2 separate regions of the Homo sapiens genome follow, and region 2 is linked to region 1. Evidence: promoter capture Hi-C in 16 types of primary human blood cells and fetal thymus (Javierre and others, 2016). All regions are on one chromosome and are shown on one strand. The core of a region is centred on a gene start or on the middle of the fragment in contact, and the rest is flanking DNA. Distances in the headings are between cores, read along the strand shown. Region 1 holds the start of YIPF4 (Yip1 domain family member 4). Region 2 has its middle 59 kb from the start of LINC01946.

The links. The method cuts DNA at HindIII sites, captures the fragments that hold promoters and counts their contacts. A CHiCAGO score of 5 or more calls a contact.
Region 2: a contact is called between a fragment that was not itself captured here and the fragment with the promoter of YIPF4 in region 1, in 1 of 17 cell types (total CD4 T cells). The highest score is 5.0, in total CD4 T cells.

What each region holds. Positions count from the first base shown.
Region 1 is chr2:32,276,418-32,281,222 of GRCh38, reverse strand. YIPF4 (Yip1 domain family member 4) reads right to left here and starts at 3,319. Exons shown (of 6, transcript NM_032312.4): 1 at 2,989-3,319. The coding sequence starts at 3,067. RefSeq lists a silencer at 3,112-3,221 and an enhancer at 3,459-4,204. The HindIII fragment of the contact is 1,217 bases long and covers 2,691-3,907 here.
Region 2 is chr2:31,860,204-31,864,928 of GRCh38, reverse strand. No RefSeq gene overlaps it. Among named protein-coding and RNA genes, the nearest start is that of LINC01946, 59 kb to the right of the region's middle. The HindIII fragment of the contact is 6,102 bases long and covers 1-4,725 here.

The DNA.
Region 1 (4,805 bases), core at 2,070-4,569:
ATACTTAAAATACTCTAAATTTAAACTGTACGATATAATATTGTGTGAGGATATTATGCATATACATATAGCTCCGTGGATATACAGACCTATATGTCTCCTGAGGAAATACAGAGAAGTTTGAATAAACTTCATGGATTTTTACTTATTTCAGGTTTCTTAGTATGTGGAATCAATGGGTTATCTACTTACATTATTCTGTCGGATTTCTTAGGCATATTTAAAAAAAGTAATTCCTCAGGGAAGGGAGAATGAAAAAAATAAACAAATACATGGAAACATGAGTTTGAACAAACATCATGTTCTGACACTTAAACAATTTTTTTAAACCTGGGAAATTAAAGTTGATATTCCTCCCTAAGCACCATGCTACCAAATGTAGATGAAACAAATTGAAATATTTTGGGGTGCTGTATCTCAGTTTAAAAGAAATTTACGGCTTGGCTGGTAGCTCACATCTGTAATCCCAGCAATTTGGGAGGCCAAGAATCTGAGACAAGCCTAGGCAACCTAGTGAGATCTACAAAATGTTCAAAAATTAGGCCGGGCGCGGTGGCTCACGCCTGTAATCCCAGCACTTTGGGAGGCCGAGGCAGGCAGATCACGAGGTCAGGAGATCGAGACCATCCTGGCTAACACAGTGAAACCCCGTCTCTACTAAAAATACAAAAAAAAAATTAGCCGCGCGTGGTGCCGGGCGCCTGTAGTCCTAGCTACTCGGGAGGCTGAGGCAGAGAATGGCGTGAACCCGGGAGGCGGAGCTTGCAGTGAGCTGAGACTGCGCCACTGCACTCCAGCCTGGGCGACAGAGCAAGACTCTGTCTCAAAAAAAAAAAAAATTAGCCTGGGCGGATCACAAGATCAGGAGATCAAGACCATCCTGGCTAACACAGTGAAACCCCGTCTCTACTAAAAAAATACAAAAAAATTAGCTGGGTGTGGTGGCTGGCACCTGTAGTTCCAGCTACTCGGGAGGCTGAGGCAGGAGAATAGCATGAACCTGGGAAGCGGAGCTTGCAGTGAGCCAAGACTGCACCACTGCACTCCAGCCTGGGTGACAAAGTGAGACTCCGCCTCAAAAAAAAAATATATATATATATATTAGCTGGGCACGGTGGCACAGACCTTAGGGTTTCATGGGTCCACTTGAAGAGAATAAGCCACCCAGAAAAACCAGCCACCAGACGGTCTCCAGCTACTCAGGAGACTGAAGCGGGAGGATCACTGGAGCCCAGGAATTTGAGGTTATAGTAAGCTATGATCAAACCACTGCACTCCAGCCTGGCAACCGAGTGAGACCACACCTCAAAAAAAAAAAAAAAGAACATAAGAGAAAAAAAAATAAATGTCTCAGCTATGTTCCCTTTGATAGACAAAAATTTTATTGTACATTTTAAATTATGACCAGTACTATTTTTAAAAAACAATGCCAAACAGCACAACAAGAAAAACAAAAGGGAAAACAAGCTATACTGATACACCATAAAATTTCTTAGGAAAATCTAGGTTCTTTCGGCCGGGCGCGGTGGCTCACGCCTGTAATCCCAGCACTTTGGGAGGCCGAGGCGGACGGATCACGAGGTCAGGAGATCGAGACCATCCTGGCTAACACTATGAAACCCCGTCTCTACTAAAAAAAAATACAAAAAAAAAAAAAATTAGCCGGGCGTGGTGGCGGGCGCCTGTAGTCCCAGCTACACGGGAGGCTGAGGCCAGAGAATGGCGTGAACCCGGGAGGCAGAGCTCGCAGTGAGCCGAGATGGCATCACTGCACTCCAGCCTGGGCGACAGAGCGAGACTCAGTCTCAAAAAAAAAAAAAAAAAAAAAGGAAAATCTAGGTTCTTTCTCAGACTGAAATTTCTGTAAACATAATTTATGATTTCATAGCAGCCAGTAAGTCTGGTCACTGGAAAATAACTGGTGCACGAAGTGTAATAAAAATTTGAAAATGGCCGGGGCGCGGTGGCTCACGCCGGTAATCCCAGCACTTTGGGAGGCCGAGGCGGGCGGATCACGAGGTCAGGAGATCGAGAGACCATCATGGCTAACACGGTGAAACCTCATCTCTACTAAAAATACAAAAAAAATTAGTCGGGGGTGGTGGCGGGTGCCTGTAGCCCCAGCTACTCGGGAGGCTGAGGCAGGAGAATGGCGTGAACCCGGGAGGCGGAGCTTGCAGTGAGCCGAGATCGCGCCACTGCACTCCAGCCTGGGCGACAGAGCTCAAGAAAAAAAAAAAAATTGAAAATGACTAGCAGAATAATATCCAGGTTATGAGTTGGATAGGGAACTGAGAATAGGAGGGAAACATTCTCCTGTGCTGTAGGAAAATATCTCCAGCACAATCGCTTCCTCAGAATAATACAAGGAAATCTGTAGAGGCTACTGGAAACACATTGTTGGTTTACACTAAACTTCCAATATACCTGCGTCAATTTCTCTGAATACTGAGGTGAAACATTACAAAATGCGAGGAAAACGGGGACTCGGGCAAGACATCAAATTCAATAAAAACCATTTAGTTTGTATTTGCAGTGCCGAATCTGATCCCAGACCCCCCCCAAAAAATTATCTGTTGATACATAACAGAAGAAAACAGCCCTCCTTCCTTTTTCTCATTCTTTGAGATCTCCCTTGGCCAATCTGTCCTTTTTCTGAGTAAGGGCGAGTAATTCCAGAACTAAAAGCTTAGGATTTTGTGGGTCCAATTGAAGAGACTAAGCCACCCAGAAAAACCAGCCACCAGACGGTATGGGGAAAACCAAGGGCTGACCGAGTAACTTGATGCTTTAAAAAGCAGCTCCCTACACCCCTCCCTCCGTCCTTCGGGGCCTCTCGGAAGGCCCGGCAGGCGTGGTGGGCTGCAGTCACCAGTCAGCTTCCTGCCTGTCCCCACCCGGCCACGACCACCTCGGCACCAGAAAGACCCTACGGCGTCGGGCCCTGGCTTCCTCCGGGTGATAGCCCTTCCAGGGGCTCAGCCTCACCTTCCGCGTCTGCTGAGGAGACAAAGGTGAAGTCCCCGTTAGTGGGGGCATAGGCCGGGGGCGGGCCCGGAGGCTGCATCTCGCGGCGACTCCCAACCGGCCGCGGTAGAAGAGGCTGCGGCTGGGCCCAGACCCCGAGGCGGCCGCGGCGGCGACCCGCACGCTCGCCCTACGGTGCGGCCTACGAGTCTCGACGTGCAAGCTGCGAGCGAGGCCAGAAACGGGCACAGCGGGCCGCTGAGCTGCCCCGAGACTACCCCACCAAAGTCTTCTTGGTGGCGACCACCCAAGCACCACGACGCCGGCACCCTGACAGGACCATAACAGTGACAGCGGCGCTGGGATTGGCTCTTTGTAATGTGCTCTCCCATTGGCTCCCGGAGGAAGATTCTGATTGGGTCTTCCTGTTGTTGATTCCGGAAGTTTACCCAGGACAGGAAGTTCACTTGTAATTCGTGGAAATCTCAGGCCTCTTTTTCCTCCTTGGGTGCTTTTGTTCCTTTAAGTGCGATCTTTCCTGGCGTTTTGTTTACCTATTACCTCCGTTTTTGTTAAGTGGGTGGGTTAAAGAATTTTAGAACTAGGTAGATTTTATGGGTCAGCCGCCGTACAGGATCTCAAGATTCCCTTGCCATTAGCCATTAATTAATAGTGTAGGATCTTGACTAAGTTATATGTAATGTCTGGATGGCAGTTTCCTCACCTGTAAGATGAAGAGGGATGGATCGGAGAATGAAGATAAAAGGCAGAGAAGCCGTAAATCGCCACCCAGAGACTAGGGCTGTAGATACATTCCTTTATGAGGGAGAAAACTGAGGCCAGAGAAAGTAAGGTAGAAACAGATTTAGGACAGTACCTAAATCTCCTAATTTCTAGTCAAGTGCTCTTTTCACTGGAAGGCCCTGTCTACTGATAAGCTTGCCGAAGTTAACAAACTCACCTGCTTTTAAATGTTTACATACGTAACTTTAATATTCAAGCTACATAAATGTGGCTTCCAACTTGAAGAAAGAGGGGTTGGGGTATATTAGGAGGCCAACTTGGAGAAATACACAATTGATCAGCAATAGAGCAATCGAGAGACATGTCTATTAGTGTGTTAAATGGTATTTCTGGAAAATTTTCTCACAGGAGGTAACATGTTGGTACTTAAAGGATGAGTAAATGTAGTGGTTTTGTTTGTTTTAGAGACAAGGTCGCTCCGTTACCCAGGCTGGAGTGCAGTGGTGCAGTAATAGCTCCTTGTAACCTCACACTCCTGGGCTCAGGCAGTCCTCCCAACTCAGCTATCTAAGTAGCTGGGACTACAAGCCCCCTGCCACCATGTTTGGCTAATATTTATTTATTTATTTATTTATTTTTGAGACGGAGTCTCATTCTGTCGACAGGATGGAGTGCAGTGGCGCGATCTCGGCTCACTGCAACCTCCGCCTCCAGGGTTCAAGCGATTCTCCTGCCTCAGCCTCCCGAGTAGCTGGGACTACAGGTGCCTGCCACCACGCCTGGGTAATTTTTTGTATTTTTAGCAGAGACGGGGTTTCACCATGTTAGTCAGGATGGTCTCGATCTCCTGACCTTGTGGTCTGCCTGCCTTGGCCTCCCAAAATGCTGAGATTACCGGCGTGAGCCACTGCACCCAGCCCGAATATAACCATTTTTTAAAACATGCCAATTTGATGGGTGATTGTGGGGAAAAGAAAGAGAGATCAGATTGTTACTGTGTCTGTGTAGGAAGAAGTAGACATAGGAGACTCCATTTTGTTCTGTACTAAGACAAATTCTTCTGCCTTGAGATGCTGTTAATCTATAACCTTAGC
Region 2 (4,725 bases), core at 1,598-4,097, 420 kb after region 1:
TTAAAGATTAGCTCACTGAGCAGGTAAGTAAGTGCTCTGTCTTGGGTGGGCAACAAATCTTCATACAGAGTAGGATAAAGAACTATTCAGATATACCAGTATTTGTATTTAGATATTCCCATTTAGATGGCTGGTGTTCTGAGCTAGTAAATGGTTAATGTTACAGATCTTAAATATTGCTTTGGTAGCAAATAGTTTATTCCCTGAGTTTTCAGGTTGGTAAATGTTTCTGTAAAAGACCAGATAGTAAATATTTTGGGCTTCACAGGCCATATAGTCTGTCCTTACTATTTTCCTCTGCAATTGTAGCACAAAAGCCACCATAGACAATGTGTAATCAAATGAATGTGAATGTGTTCTAATAAAAGTTTATTTACACAAAGATGGTGAGCTGGATTTGGCCTGTGGGCCATAATTTGCTGTCTCCTGTCATAGATGGTGCCGTTTGTAGTTCAAAAGTTGGCAAATAATCTAAACTGCAAAAAGCGGTGGTAAGTTTTTGCCATCACAATCCTGTCTTATTTTGATGTAGTCAGATTGACTGGTTGGAGTGTTATTTAGGATCATAAAGGTAAGTGGGAAATGGGTATGGGAAACTAAGAAGTCTTGGAAATTAGTGTTGAATAACTTTGAAGCCCTTTTATTTGCTGGAATCCATTGGGAGGTTTACTTTGCTGCAATAAACTAATCAAAAAAGTGATCGGTGGAGCTTGTGATTGGTTGTTGCAAATTCTTTAAATTATTCTAAGTGCTTGGCTACCTAGATGATAGCAGAAGCTAGATCAGATGAACCTTTTTACCTGAGTATTTTAGGACACTAGACCAACATTTTTAAAAAGGACTGTGAAATGTAAAACTTAATTTTGCCGTGTAAGGACTTTTGAAAAGACAACTACTATCTTCCCTTACCATTTTATTTTAAAAGTGACTCCCAATATTTAGGAAGGACTTAAACTCAGAGTAATAGAGTAATTTAACTTGAATAACTTTAAGTTAATGAAAAAATTACTACACTGGTATTTTCTCATTTACTCTGCATCACTGAAAAATTTATCGAGTTAATTAGTCCATAGACTGGCATTTGGGAAGTGCTATAATACAGTTGTTGAAAGAACTAGTGTACTTACAAAGCTGATATTGACTAGTAGATTAATAAGCCACATGTACACTGTTACTGAGATTTAAGACGTTTTTATTGTGTTAAATTGTAAGTGCCATGTATTAAAGGGGACACTAAGAACTATAGTGTCTATAAGGAATGATAAAAGGCTTTGATAGTCTAGAGAGTGAGATGTGGTTGAAGAAATTGGTGAGTCTTATTTTTGAGAAGGTAAGTTTAAAGATAGGGAGTTTTCTTCAGATTGAGTGACCTTCATATATGAGAAAGAATAGTATTTGTTCTGTGTTGTTCTGGGTAGAAAAATTATAAGAAATGGGAGCTTCTGGTTTTACGTTGAATATTCTCTAATGAGAATTCTTTCCTTTCCTTTTCCTTCCTCCCTTTCCCCTCCCTTTTCTCTCCCTTCCCCTTCCCCTCCCCGTTCCCTATCCCTCCCCTTCCCCCTCCCCCTCCCCTCCCTCTCTTTCCCCGCCTCTCCCCCAGTCTCGCTCTGTTGCCCCAGGCTGGAGTGCAGTGGCATGATCTCTGCTCACTGCAACCTCTGCCTCCCAGGTTCAAGCAATTCTCCTGCCTCAGCCTCCTGAGTAGCTGGGATTACAGGCGCCCGCCACCATACCTGGCTAATTTTTGTATTTTTAGTAGAAACGGGGTTTCGCCATGTTAGCCAGGCTGGTCTTGAACTCCTGACCTCAGGTGATCTGCCTGCCTCGGCCTCCCAAAGTGCTAGTATTACAAGTGTGAGCCACTGCACCCAGCCTCTTTCTTTCTTTCCTCCTTTTTCCCTTTCTTTTCTTTCTTTCCTCCTTTTTCCCTCTTTTCTTTCTTTTCTTCCTTCCTCCCTCCCTCCCTCCCTCCCTCCCTCCCCACCTCCCCCCAATCCCATTTCTCTCTCTCTCTGTCTCTTTCTTTCAAGACAGGGTTTCACCATGTTACCCAGGTTGGTCTCAAACTCCTGGGCTCAAGAGATCCACTCGCCTTGTATAATGAGAATTTCTAATAATGAGAATTTTACTTTGTCCTCATAAAAGCATTAGAAGTATTCAGATAAAAGCTAGATTGGTGATTATCGAAGTAGAGTCCCTGGACTATCAACATCAGTATCACCTAGAGATGTGTAATTATGATCACCAAGCTAAAAAAAGCTAGTATACAAGTAAAATGGAACTTATTTGTATAAAACTGTTGAGAAGTTATTTTTAAATCAAAATTGATTTTGACCATTTAACACTAACTTTAAACACAGAGATTATAAATTGATGATTATTGCTTTATTGTTACTAGGGTAACACTGGTGTACCAGTTACTGGGGGAACCTTAGAATAATTAATTATTCTGTTTTAGTTAAAACATTTAAATATAGGGCAGAGTTCTACCATTTCCTAAAATAAAGTTGGTCTTTGAATGAATGACTCAATTAAACAGAGCTGCTTTTTCAATCTAAAACACAGCCATATCAGTTGGCAGAAAAGGAACTTGAAGGACTGGTTTTTTTATACCTATTAATGTCAAAATATTAGGATAACCTGGAGCAGCTGTCACATAAGACGTTTTCCTATCTACTTCCTGTTCTAGTATCCCACCACATACCAGTACATACAGCTGAGTGGCATGGCATACTGTCATCTATAGCTATGCTACACATTTTGACAAAGCTCTCTCAAGTAATGCTGATAACTGGAACCTCTACCTCTTTAAAGTCACTGTTGAGGATGGATTTGTTTGCCTATCCTGTCTTCAAGTATTCATTAGTACTATGTAAAGAACTTTGGAGTTTCAGATTTGTCATTTATTCTAGGGTTCTCTGATGATTCCAGAGTGGTTTGTATCCAGGATGTATCACATTTACTGTGTATGTGTGTGTACTCTGTGTGTGTGTGTGTGTGTGTGTGTGTGTGCGCGCGCGCGCGTGCGTGCGCACATGTATTTAATTCTAATGCAAAATTTTGGCAATCACTATAAAAATAATGAAAAGAATTTTAAAAGCCAGTTTGTCTGAGTTTGAAAGGTATGCTATAATGCAGTTGTTTTTTTATTATTAATTGTAAATTATGTTCAAATGAACATTTCTCACTGCAAAGTTCAGTTTGTAATTTTATTAGATGTAGTCATATTTTTTCCCTGTCATCCTAATAATGAAACCAAAGAGAATCTAAACACCGTTATTAAGCTATTGAAGGCCAAGAGAGGCAACTATAAGCAGGATTGAATTCATTGGGCATGCAGCGAAAGCACATTTTATTTAACTTTAAAAATTTTTTAATTTGACTACATCTAATAAAATTAAAAATTTTAATCTTTAAATTGGTCTTTGTAAACTTCTGAAAAAATTTTAATATTTTTGTCTGATATTCTGAATTAGTGAATGTGATGTTACATTTTAGTAGAAAGTAGTAAAACGATGAAAACAAAAATTAGATCATACTAAGTTTTGCGAGTTTTTAAACATTAAATCCTTAGACTTGAATTTGACTTAATAAAAGTATTGTTAACTATTTTATAAATGGAAGTTTTTTTCTGAGAATTTTTTTTTCATTTAAAATTTTTTATTTGGCCAGACACGGTGGCTCATGCCTGTAATCCCAGCACTTTGGGAGGCTGAGGTGGGAGGACTGCTTGAGTCCAGGAGTTTGAGACCAGCCTGAGCAATATAGTGAGACCGCGTCTCTACAAAAAAAAAAAAATTAAAATTAAAATTAAAAAATGAGCCAGGTGTGGCAGCATGCACCTGTACTCTCAGCTACTCAGGAGGTTGAGGTGAGAGGATCGCTTGAGCCCGAGAGGCGGAAGTTGCTGTGAACTGAGATTGCACCACCACAGACTCCAGTCTGGGTGACAGAGCGAGACTGTCTCAAGAAAAAAAAATTATTATCAATTTGAATTTAGCACAGAATAGATATTCAGTTGCTGTTTGTTCAGTTTCAATGAATTGAATTTTGAAGGAAGGAGAACAAAAGATAATCTTCATGTGAAGTGTTTTCTAAAGGTCAGGAAAGCATAAACCTTTTCACTGGAAGCATCTTTTAATTGGCTTTTTTCATTTTCAATGATTATGGAAATCATTGTCCTCAGTAACTTTAAGGTAGGGTAGAATTTAATATTCCTAGGCTGTATATTTGATGCTAAATGAAATAAATTGTAATGTAAGTTATCTGGTACAATTGAACCTGTTGGCCCATGATTCCTAGCTCATATTTGGCAATGTCCGATGGTGTTTACCATTACTTGAAGGTGTTGAAAAATTTTTTAAAGTTAAATAAAATGTGCTTTAGCTGCATGCCCAATGACATGTCCAGCCAACTCTCAAGTAAAAAGATACTTATGGAGTGTTAGAAATTCTGGACTAGAATCTGTTTACAACTTTGCTGGTGAGTTGCTACTGGTTTGCTAGAACGAGTCACTCTTCCTTTCTAGATTAGAGTTTATTTCTTTATTAATGTGAGTTAGAATTGAATAATATTACTTCTAAGGGTCTTTCCACCTTTGACTTTTTAGGACATGAATGAAAACACCTTATTTATTTAATGTATTGTACTTTAACATTTTTAAATCTGTTTCACAACATTTCCCCTGCTCTGTTAATCTCAAGGATTACAGGCCAGACATTG